Linked DNA regions of Homo sapiens: region 1 is linked to region 2. The links are contacts of gene promoters, found by promoter capture Hi-C in blood cells and fetal thymus (Javierre and others, 2016). All regions are on one chromosome and are shown on one strand. Each heading gives the region's core, a stretch centred on a gene start or on the middle of the fragment in contact. The rest is flanking DNA. Distances are from core to core; before and after follow the strand shown.

The links. The method cuts DNA at HindIII sites, captures the fragments that hold promoters and counts their contacts. A CHiCAGO score of 5 or more calls a contact.
Region 1: a contact is called between the fragment with the promoter of KRT78 here and a fragment that was not itself captured in region 2, in 3 of 17 cell types (naive CD4 T cells, total CD4 T cells and naive CD8 T cells). The highest score is 8.4, in naive CD4 T cells.

The regions. Positions count from the first base shown.
Region 1 is chr12:52,845,597-52,850,243 of GRCh38, forward strand. KRT78 (keratin 78) reads right to left here and starts at 3,398. Exons shown (of 9, transcript NM_173352.4): 1 at 2,951-3,398; 2 at 2,311-2,525; 3 at 1,168-1,228; 4 at 601-696. The coding sequence starts at 3,334. The HindIII fragment of the contact is 13,226 bases long and covers 1-4,647 here.
Region 2 is chr12:52,647,526-52,652,420 of GRCh38, forward strand. KRT2 (keratin 2) reads right to left here and starts at 4,686. Exons shown (of 9, transcript NM_000423.3): 1 at 4,033-4,686; 2 at 2,814-3,028; 3 at 2,389-2,449; 4 at 1,482-1,577; 5 at 648-812; 6 at 205-330. The coding sequence starts at 4,617. The HindIII fragment of the contact is 747 bases long and covers 1,070-1,816 here.

The DNA.
Region 1 (4,647 bases), core at 2,148-4,647, 200 kb after region 2:
CCTTCTTCCATACTATATGATTTCCTTATTTACTAAGTCTGTTGCTTATTGTCTGTCTCCCAATAGAAAGCAAACTTAGTCGGGCGTGGTGGCTCATGCCTGTAATCCCAGCACTTTGGGAGGCCGAGGCGGGTGGATCATGAGGTCAGGAGTTCAAGACCAGCCTAGCTAAGATGGTGAAACCCCATCTCTACTAAAAATACAAAAATTAGCTGACCGCAGTGGCGGGTGCCTGTAATCCCACCTACTTGGGAAGCTGAGGCAGAGAATTGCTTGAAGCCGGGAGGCAGAGGTTGCAGTGAGCTGAGATTGCACCACTGCACTCCAGCCTGGGCAACTGAGCAAGATTCCATCTCAAAAAAAAAAAAAAGCAATTTTTTTATCTGTAGTGATTTTTTTCTGGTTATTCATTGATGTATCCCCAGGACCTAGCAATTCACATAGTAAGTTTTCAGTAATTGGTTGTCAAGTGACTGAATGACCCAGAATCTAAGCCACCCTAACAGACTTCCCCTCTTGGCCATTCTCCTCATGGCCACAGGAAGCCTGCCCACCCAGTCCTCTCTCTTGGCTGCAGCCTGCCCTTTGGTTGAGCCTCACTTCTTCATTCAGATGCTTCAAGAAGTAGAGGTACTCTCTCAGAGCCTCCAGCTTGCCCTCCAACTCCATCTTGCTCAGGAAAACCCCATCCACATCCTGGAGACAAGGGGAGAGAGAACACGTAACCCCCTCTTCCTCTTTGGGGTCCCTACTCTGGCTCAGGAATTCTGTTCATGCACTGCTCAACACCCATCCACCATGCCTCCCAAGACCCCCTCCTTCCTCCTCCAGCCCCACTCTGTCCTGCTCTCTCCTTTGCCCAACATTGACCCAACATCACCTTCAGGAAGTCTTCCCTGATTAATCACAACCAGTTCTGCTTCTTCCTCTCCCTCCCCGCCCTCTCCTGCAGTGACATCAAGAGCTCGTCAAGCAGTCCTTTAGTCAGATCTTGCCTTGGGGCCCCTGTGTCTAGGCAGATGTCCCATTTTCCCAGGGGACCCCTGCAGGTAGAGTGATAGCCTGTCCTAAATCAGGACCTCCCACCTTTTCCCTCCCAGCCTAGGACTAGGCTCCGTGCACAGTGGATGCTCAGAACGTAAGTGGAGCACTGGCCCCCACCCTCACCTTCTTGAGGACCACAAAGTCGTTCTCAAGTGTGGCACGCCTGTGGGCCTCCTCCTCATACCTGCCAAATAAGTAGAGAAGGATGCAGTTTGAGGCTCCACGGTCAGAGCTCATGCCCCCATGTCCGAGCATGACCTCCCTGAAAAGGACTCCTTGCCTTAGAATGCCCCCAAACAAGACAATAACCAGCCCTTCTCTCCTTTCCTGCCACGTCCTAGCTATGTACCTGTGCCACCCTTTCAGCCCATGTCCTTTTGATGACGACAGCCACATTGTTTCAGTTTATAAGGCACATTCGAATACCTTTTCCCACTTGCTACTCACACCCATCACTTGAGGTAGGCAGTTTGGGTTTTATCAGAGAGATTAGATGATTTGACCAAGACCCCACAGATGACTAGGTAGACAAAGCAGAGCCAGCCCAGGTCTTCTGACCCCAATCCAGGGCTCCTTCCAGAACCTTCCTTCCTCCACCTCACATCCCATTATCCCAATAGCCCTGGGAGGCCAGAAGGGCAGGTGACATTTCCCAAGTTTACAGAAGGGAAACCAAGTCCGGGAGAGATGAGATGCCTTGCCCAGGATGCACAGCTACCCCTCACTCACAGTTGCCCCAACCCAAGCCCCCTATTAGTCCAGGGCTCTCTCCACTCCACCAGGTGACCTAGGCGTGGAGCCCAGAACCACAGCCCATCTGTGAATTGTGTCACAGGCCTGGGGACAGCCCCACTAAATTGATTCCCTTCCCTCTTTGGAACCAGAGAACATCTGAATCACTTTAGCCCACAGCCCGCTGAACAGGAATTTCTCAAGAATAAAAAAAGCCACTGGGGCATTGTTTAAATAAGCCCTTCCCAGCCTTGACCGGAAACATGGGCCCTTGTAGCTGGGGCATGTAGGACACCGGTCTCCCTGCCTTTCCTCCAAGGTTCTCCAGATCTGCTTGGGGACTGCGGGACACCTCGTTTACCTGTAGCAGGTGGGCACCTGAGAGCCTGGGGAATGGGGACGCGGAGGGGTAGAGGGGAGGCCAGTCATGTGCCTCTGGGTGCTCAGTATGTGGGACACCTCCTGGCTGACAGACCCAAACTGAGTCATCCCAGACCCCGCCCACATGGCATGGGGAAATTTCAGTGTGCCTACTTGGACTTATACTCCTCCTCCTGGTCCCGGCAGGCCTTCAACTCAGCATCCAGAGCCCCTCGTTCTCCCTGGAGCTGCTCCAGCTGCTTCCTGAGCTGATCCAGGCAGGCCTCAAAGACAGGCTCCAGGCCCTGCTGGCTGCCACTCAACCCCTGTTGCTGCAGCAGATGCCACTTCGTCTCCAGGACCTTGTTCTGCTGCTCCAGGAACCGCACCTGCAGCAAAAGCAGAGGATCCCTGAGGCTCCTGTGGGACTCCCTGTGCACAGCCTCTGGAAAGTAAAGCCTGAGGGACCCTCCCATCAGCCTCACCTTTCCCCTGTCCCCCTGCCCAACCTGGGCAGGGGAAGCCTCATGACCTTCCATGACACTCTGAACACAACAAAATGACTGGACTGACTAATGGGGCAGGGCCTTCCCCCCGCTGGCTGGCAGTTCTCTGTCCCTGAGCCCCAATCATGGAACAACAGGGCCTCAGCATAGCCAGAGAGAGTCCAGTTAGTCCACAGGAGGGACTTCTTTGCTGCAGAAGTTATTAGAAAAGTGGTAGAAGGAGGCCAAACTTCCCATTTCCAAGTCCATCAAGAGCAGCTCCTCCAAGGGAGGCACAGAGACAGGGGCTTGGCTGAGTTGACCCTCACCTTGTCAATGAAGGAAGCAAACTGGTTGTTGAGGGTTCTGATCTCCTGGGTCTCCTGCGTCCGCACCACCTGGAACTGGGGATCGATCTCAATCTTCAGTGGGGTCAGCAGATTCTGGTTGATGGTCACTTCTTGGATGCCCCCCGGAGGGCACAGGGAGAGCCCAGGCCCACCACTCCACTCCCCAAACCGCACCCCCAGCCTACCCCCTGACCCCCAGGTACTCCCACGAGAGCCTTCCAGGCACCCCCCAAAGGAATTAAGGCTCCTGCTGCTGAAGCCGCCCCTGCTGCTGAAGCCTCCCCTGCTGCGGCCCCTTGAGCGAGCAGAACAGGCTGAGCGAGCGCTGAAGCCCCTCTGGGCCCGGCATGGGGAGAGAGACATGGCAGAGACAGACAGTCACGCAGCTGCAGACGGACAGACAGATTGTCAAGGTGTGTGAGTTTCTGCCCTGGGGCCCCAGCACGAGACTTTTATCCACTCCCGTACCTGGGCTGGGCCTTGGAGAGCAAGATACTCTTGACCTGACTGTGTCTGTCACTTGGCTCCAGCTGACTTACTCTGACGTGCCTGGAGAATAAGTGTCCGGCACGTGCAGAGCCAAGGGAGAAGGAAACCCAGACCCTGCCCTCAGAGCTCCCAGGCTGTTGGAGAAATAGGCATGCCCAAAGACAAGGAAGCAGGCAGGAGACTGGGATGTCAGTGCTGAGGGACAGGGAGGGATGGCCGGAGCAAAGTCACTGAGGCCCTCAGGGAAGGCTTCCTGAAGGAGACAGGGAAGCGAGAGGAGGTTGAAGAGGAAAGAACGCTAGAAGGGGTTCAGAGGAAGCATCAGAGTGCCCTGGATTCTCAAGGGAGAATCTGCCTCAAGGAGTTGGAGAAGGAAGGCACTTGCAGCGCCACAAAGAGAGGAGGTTAGTGGAGGTGTTATTGCCATAGTTGGCTAAAAGACACTCCAGGATTTGGAAATGAAACAGAAAAACAGGGTTTCCAAGTCCTTCCTCTTGCCCAACCCAGCAATCATCCATGAGGCACCACCCACTGAAATCAGGCATCTCCATCCAGGATCGCATGGGACAGCACGTTTCTGACCCAGCCTGTGGCTCTGCTCCTTCCACAAGCACTTGGGGCCAGGCCCATCCACCTGCCATCAGGCTCCGCTTCCTGAGGTTACAAATCAGAGCCACCCAGGCTCTGAAATGAAATGTGCATTTAGGGCCGGGCACAGTGGCTCACGCCTGTAATCCCAGCACTTTGGAAGACCGAGGTGGGTGGGTCACTGGAGGTCAGGAGTTTGAGACCAGCCTGACCAACATGGTGAAACCCCATCTCTACTAAAAATACAAAAATTGGCCAGGTGTGATGGTGCACACCTGTAATCCCAGCTACATATGAGGCTGAGGCAGGAGAATTGCTTGAACCCAGGAGGCAGAGGTTGAGCAGTGAGCCAAGATCGTACCACTGCACTCCAGCCTGGGCAACAGAGTGAGACTCCATCTCAAAAAAAAAAGCAAGGTGCATTTAGAAAATACTCCTAAGCTGGGAACGGTGGCTCACGCTTGTAATCCCAGCACTTTGGGAGGCCTAGGCGGGTGGATCACGAAGTCAGGAGATCGAGACCATCCTGGCTAACACGGTAAAACCCCGTCTCTTAAAAATACAAAAAATTAGCCAGGCGTGGTGGCAGGCACCTGTAA
Region 2 (4,895 bases), core at 193-2,692:
ACTTTGGAATGTCTATTAGAGCACTCTAAGAATTGTTATAATAAGCCATAAATTATGTTAAGCTGGGGAATTTGGGATCGATACATGCTAGAGTGCAATATCTCAGTGTCTCTCATCTCTCACATGCACACTCACACACAACCACACTCTCACGCACACCCAGAGACAACCTCCCGCCCCTCGCTGGACAGGGCTGGGCCTCACCTGCTTCTTCACATGTGCGATCTCCCCCTGCAGCCTCTGGATCACGCGGTTCAGCTCGCTGATCTCTATCTTGATCTCTTTCAGGCTGTCTCCATGTCTCCCGACAGTCACCTGGAGCTCCTCATACTGATATGGGGAGAAGAGGACAGTTTGCAAGGAAGTTCCAGCCTGGCTCACATTCCAGACTGACTGGAGTGAAGGAGAGCTGGTTACTGGTCCAGGGAGGGTCAACCCAGCTAAATGTCATGGCTGCATTCATGAGAGGTAGGGACTGTCTCACATGCCCAAAAGGACTTGGTGCCATTCTCAACATCCTTTCTTGGGAATGGTGCCCAACTACCATTAAACAAAAAACCAATAACCTTACTGTACACTTTCCAGCTGGGGGTGCAACCCAGCTCATGGCAGGGAGCTGTGGCTCTTCCTACATTCCCTCTACTTGCCTTGCTGTGGTACAGGGCCTCCGCTTCTTCCTTGCTCCTCTGGGCGATCTCCTCATACTGGGCCTTGACCTCGGCGATGATGCTATCCAAGTCCAGGTTGCGGCTGTTGTCCATGGAGAGGATGACGTTGGTGTCAGTGACACTCTGATGTATCTGGGATATCTCCTACAACACACAGGAAGGTCTGGTCATGACATCCTGCCATAGCTACAGGCAGACAGGAGGCCTCTGTCTCCCAGCATAAGGGAAACGCAGACCCTCAGACTAAGCATACACTAGGTGGGATGAAAATCATGTAACCGTCTACTCCTGGGCCTCTCCCAAGGTTGTCCTGAGAATTGTAGTGAGAGGCACCTGTATTTCTGAGCCTCCTAGTTAACATTCAGCACTTAAGCCAGTTATGGTAAGTGCCCCCAGACAGAAGCTTGTCCATGGCAAATACCTTAAATGGACTTCCTGTTTCAGAAATCATCTGTGCACCCTTGGGTTGGGGAGGGGGATAGGAGACAAATGCATTTTGACCTCTGAAGTACAGTAGGCACAGGAATGGGCACAGGGCTTGTCTCTTCCCCAGGGGAAATGGACATCTGGGGAATGGAGGGAGGGGAAGCTGTCCTGGTGTTTCCTGAACCTTATTCCCATAACATCGGAGGAGAAAATTCCTCACCCACAAGACCTATGCTATGAAAGCCCCCCCAGTGGCCTGGAATGATGGCAGATTGAAGTCAGCTGGTCCATAAACCCCACTTCTGCCACTTTTTCACCAAGCAGAAAGGACTTTCATTTGGTGAGAAGGGTGGGAAGTAAGGGACTGTCCCGGAGCAGCCTCCTTACCGCATCATAGAGAACTTTCAGAAACTCAATTTCCTGGTTCAGCAGGTCCACCTTGGACTGCAACTCCACCTTTATCATGTAGGCATTGTCCACGTCCTGCAAGAAAGGTTGAGGCCTCTGGTGTATGGTTCCCTGTACAGGCCTCTTCCTCTCTCTGCCACTCCCCTCTACTCAGTCCCTGCTGGCTCCTCTCTAAAATCCCAGGCTCCCCAACCTGATCCCTGTCCCCATGGGACTTCTTTTGTCGTGCAGTTTACCATACACCTCTGCCAGGGACTTCATGCCTACGTCCATGGCTCACAGCCCTCAGGACCATCAGAGCCTCGAGATGACCAAGCTTTGCCAACCAGCCCCTCTCTCCTGCTTGAGACACTGTGTGTTTCTACAACAGGATACGATGTTCTTTGTGGGTTTCCACAGTCCTCAGCTCTCTCATCCCGTCTGTCCATCTCACCTCTCCGAAATTTCCCCAGAATATACACCAAAGGCCCTGCAGGACCCAGCAGGAGAACCCTTGCTTTTGGCCTACAACCTCAAACCTTTGTCAGCACAACCAACAGCAACTTTAAGCAGGCATTCTAAGGGAAGTCCCATTCCTTCCTCAGCTCTTTAGAAGGAGAATACAAAGAGATTTTTGTGTTTGCATTTATCATGATTCAGTAGAGGCTTTAAGTGGGTTACTACTGGGAAGCACTCTACCAAAAATGCAGAACAGCTTTGAAAACTGTATCCAGAAGCTTGACCTACAGAGACAATTTTGTTTGCAAGAGAATGTGCCATGGGTCTCACTCCTTTCTCTGGCTGCTGCTTTTGCACTCACAGTTGATTTCCAAACTGGCTGCTTAGACACAATGGGGCTGTGAAGCACTCCTATCCCCACCCCCAGCCAAGACATTCTCTCGCTCACCTTTTTAAGCGTCACAAAATCATTCTCAGCAGCTGTGCGCTTATTGATTTCATCCTCATACCTATTGGGACACAGATGTTACAGCAGTTAGATTAGTTCCCCTTCATTTTTTTTCTTTTCCTTTTATACTGGATTCACCCCAAATGCCCCATTCTCTGGGAATATTACACACTTTTTAAATATCTAAATTGAAACTAAGATTTCCAAACTAAAGATATATTTTTATAAACTAACTCTCAAACATACAAAAGACAAAAATGATCTCTAAAGTCTCACTGTCTTCCTCACAAATAATCAACAAAGATACATATGCCTCTCCCCATTACCACCACAAATGCAACTGGGAGATGAATGGCTTTCCAGGGAGTGATCAAATGGCTCAGTGCAATGTTTATCTCCACTCAGCGTTTCACTCTGCCACCTACTTCTTCTTATAATCCTCCACAAGATCCTGCATGTTATTCAGCTCTGAATTCTGTGATGTTCTTTCTGCAGTGAGCCCATCCAGATATCTCTTGAGGCTGTCGATATACCCCTGGAAGATGGGCTCCAGGTTGATGGGGCGGGTGCCAACATTCATTTGTTGTAGCAGCTCCCATTTGGTCTGTAACACCTGGTTCTGCTGCTCCAAGAACCGCACCTGCCATGACCAGAAGGAGAGCACATGAGTTCTAGATCATCCTTCACACCAAGCAAGCCACGCTGGCCAGGGGCAGCTCAGGTGCTGCTTCAGGACCTCGAGAAGTGTCTGAGGCTGGATGCCGAGTCATGACTGGCAGAGCTTCTGAGCTCCCTGCTTTCGCCCCTGGAAAGTCCCACAGACTCCTAATGCTACATCCGGCTCTCTCCACGCAGAGGAGACTCTTTGCTGCTTCACTGCTCACTGGTTTGTTTGCAGCTGCTCCCAATACTCTAGACCATTTCCCTCCCCGCATCCTGGTTGAATTTCCAGCCAAGATCCCATAAATTCTGGGGAAAACCGAAAGCAGCCATCTGCTGGCACTGCTCGCAAGGGTGCTGAGTATGAGAGTCCCAGAGGGCAGGGCTCCTCAGCCTGATTTTTAAGAGCCTTGTAAATCCCTGCCTATTTCAAGGCAGATAAACCAAGACAGGTTCGTCTGCCTTGAAATAGGAGAAAAGCCAGTAACACTCCGAAGTGACACCAATAAAGACTTTATGGATCACAAAACTGAGAACGCTTCTCTTGAAGGCAGGAATTTCCTGCATTCCCAAGCAGATATTTCAGGTTCAGCTTCCCAGAGTTTAGTAATCACTGCTAAGGAAGGAAACACTATCTCAGAAGACGATGGCTTCCAAAACCTGCTGCTCCAGTGGCCTGTCCCAAGGATCAGTTCAATACTTGCCTATATCCATTTTTTATGGTTTTCAGAATTTTCCATAAATATTATTTATATGGACTGTAACAATAAGGTCAAAGGGACAAATGCTTCCTAAGTGCAGGCTGTTATGGGAAATGTAACCCACAAAGCTGGCGTCTTTTCCATCTGGAAACCGCAAATGACCCAGGCTACTGCGGTACACCACTGGCTCCTAAGAAATACAAATCTGTGCCATTTTCTTTTTGGTTGGCTCTGGAAGTGAAGTGGCCTGAGCATCAGTGGGAGCCGTCTTCTCCAGAGTCACCTTGTCAATGAAGGAGGCAAATTTGTTGTTGAGAGTTTTGATCTGCTCACGCTCTTGGGCCTTCACATTCTGGATCTCTGGGTCAACTTTCACGTTGAGAGGCTGCAGGAGGCTCTGGTTGACAGAGACTTCGTGGATGCCACCAGGGTATCCTCCAGGCCCAAAGCCACCAGGACCCCCTAAACCTCCAACACCACCAGGGCCCCCAAAACCTCCAAAGCGGCCTCCACCAAAGCCGCCTCCACCGAAACCACCACCACTGAAGCCGCTGCCACCTCCAAAGCTGCTGCCGCCTCCAAAACCACCTCCTCTGCCACCAAATCCACCAGCGGCGCCAAAGCCACCACCTCCTCCAGCCACACTAATGGAGATGCTCTTGGTCCCTCCAAGGCCAACAAGACTCCGACTGCCAAAGCCGCCTCCACCGAAGCCCCCGCCACCACCACCATGGCGGCTCAAGCAGGAGAAGCTGGAAGTTGATCTCCGGCTTCCACCAGACACCACAGCTGAGCCGCTGCTGAAGCCCCGGAATCCTCCTCCACCTCCTCCTCTTCCTCGAGATTTGCAAGAGATCTGACAACTCATGATGCCTTTGTCCAGGGAGGAAAGTCACAGGCTCTTGAGAAGAGTCAAGGCTGGAGACTCAACTGTGCTGCTGGGAGGCTTTCAGGGTCCCCTTATATACCTGCCAACTAGGTGTTGTGTACATGGGTGTGGATCCACTTATACGTGGGTTTGGTCTGCCTGGGAGCTATTCCTGGTGCGTGATTATCAAGCTAATAGCCATTAAAAATCTACTAATCAGCTCCATCCCAGAACTTGCTTTGATTGCAAACTTCTGTTTATCTGGGCATCTGTCATGC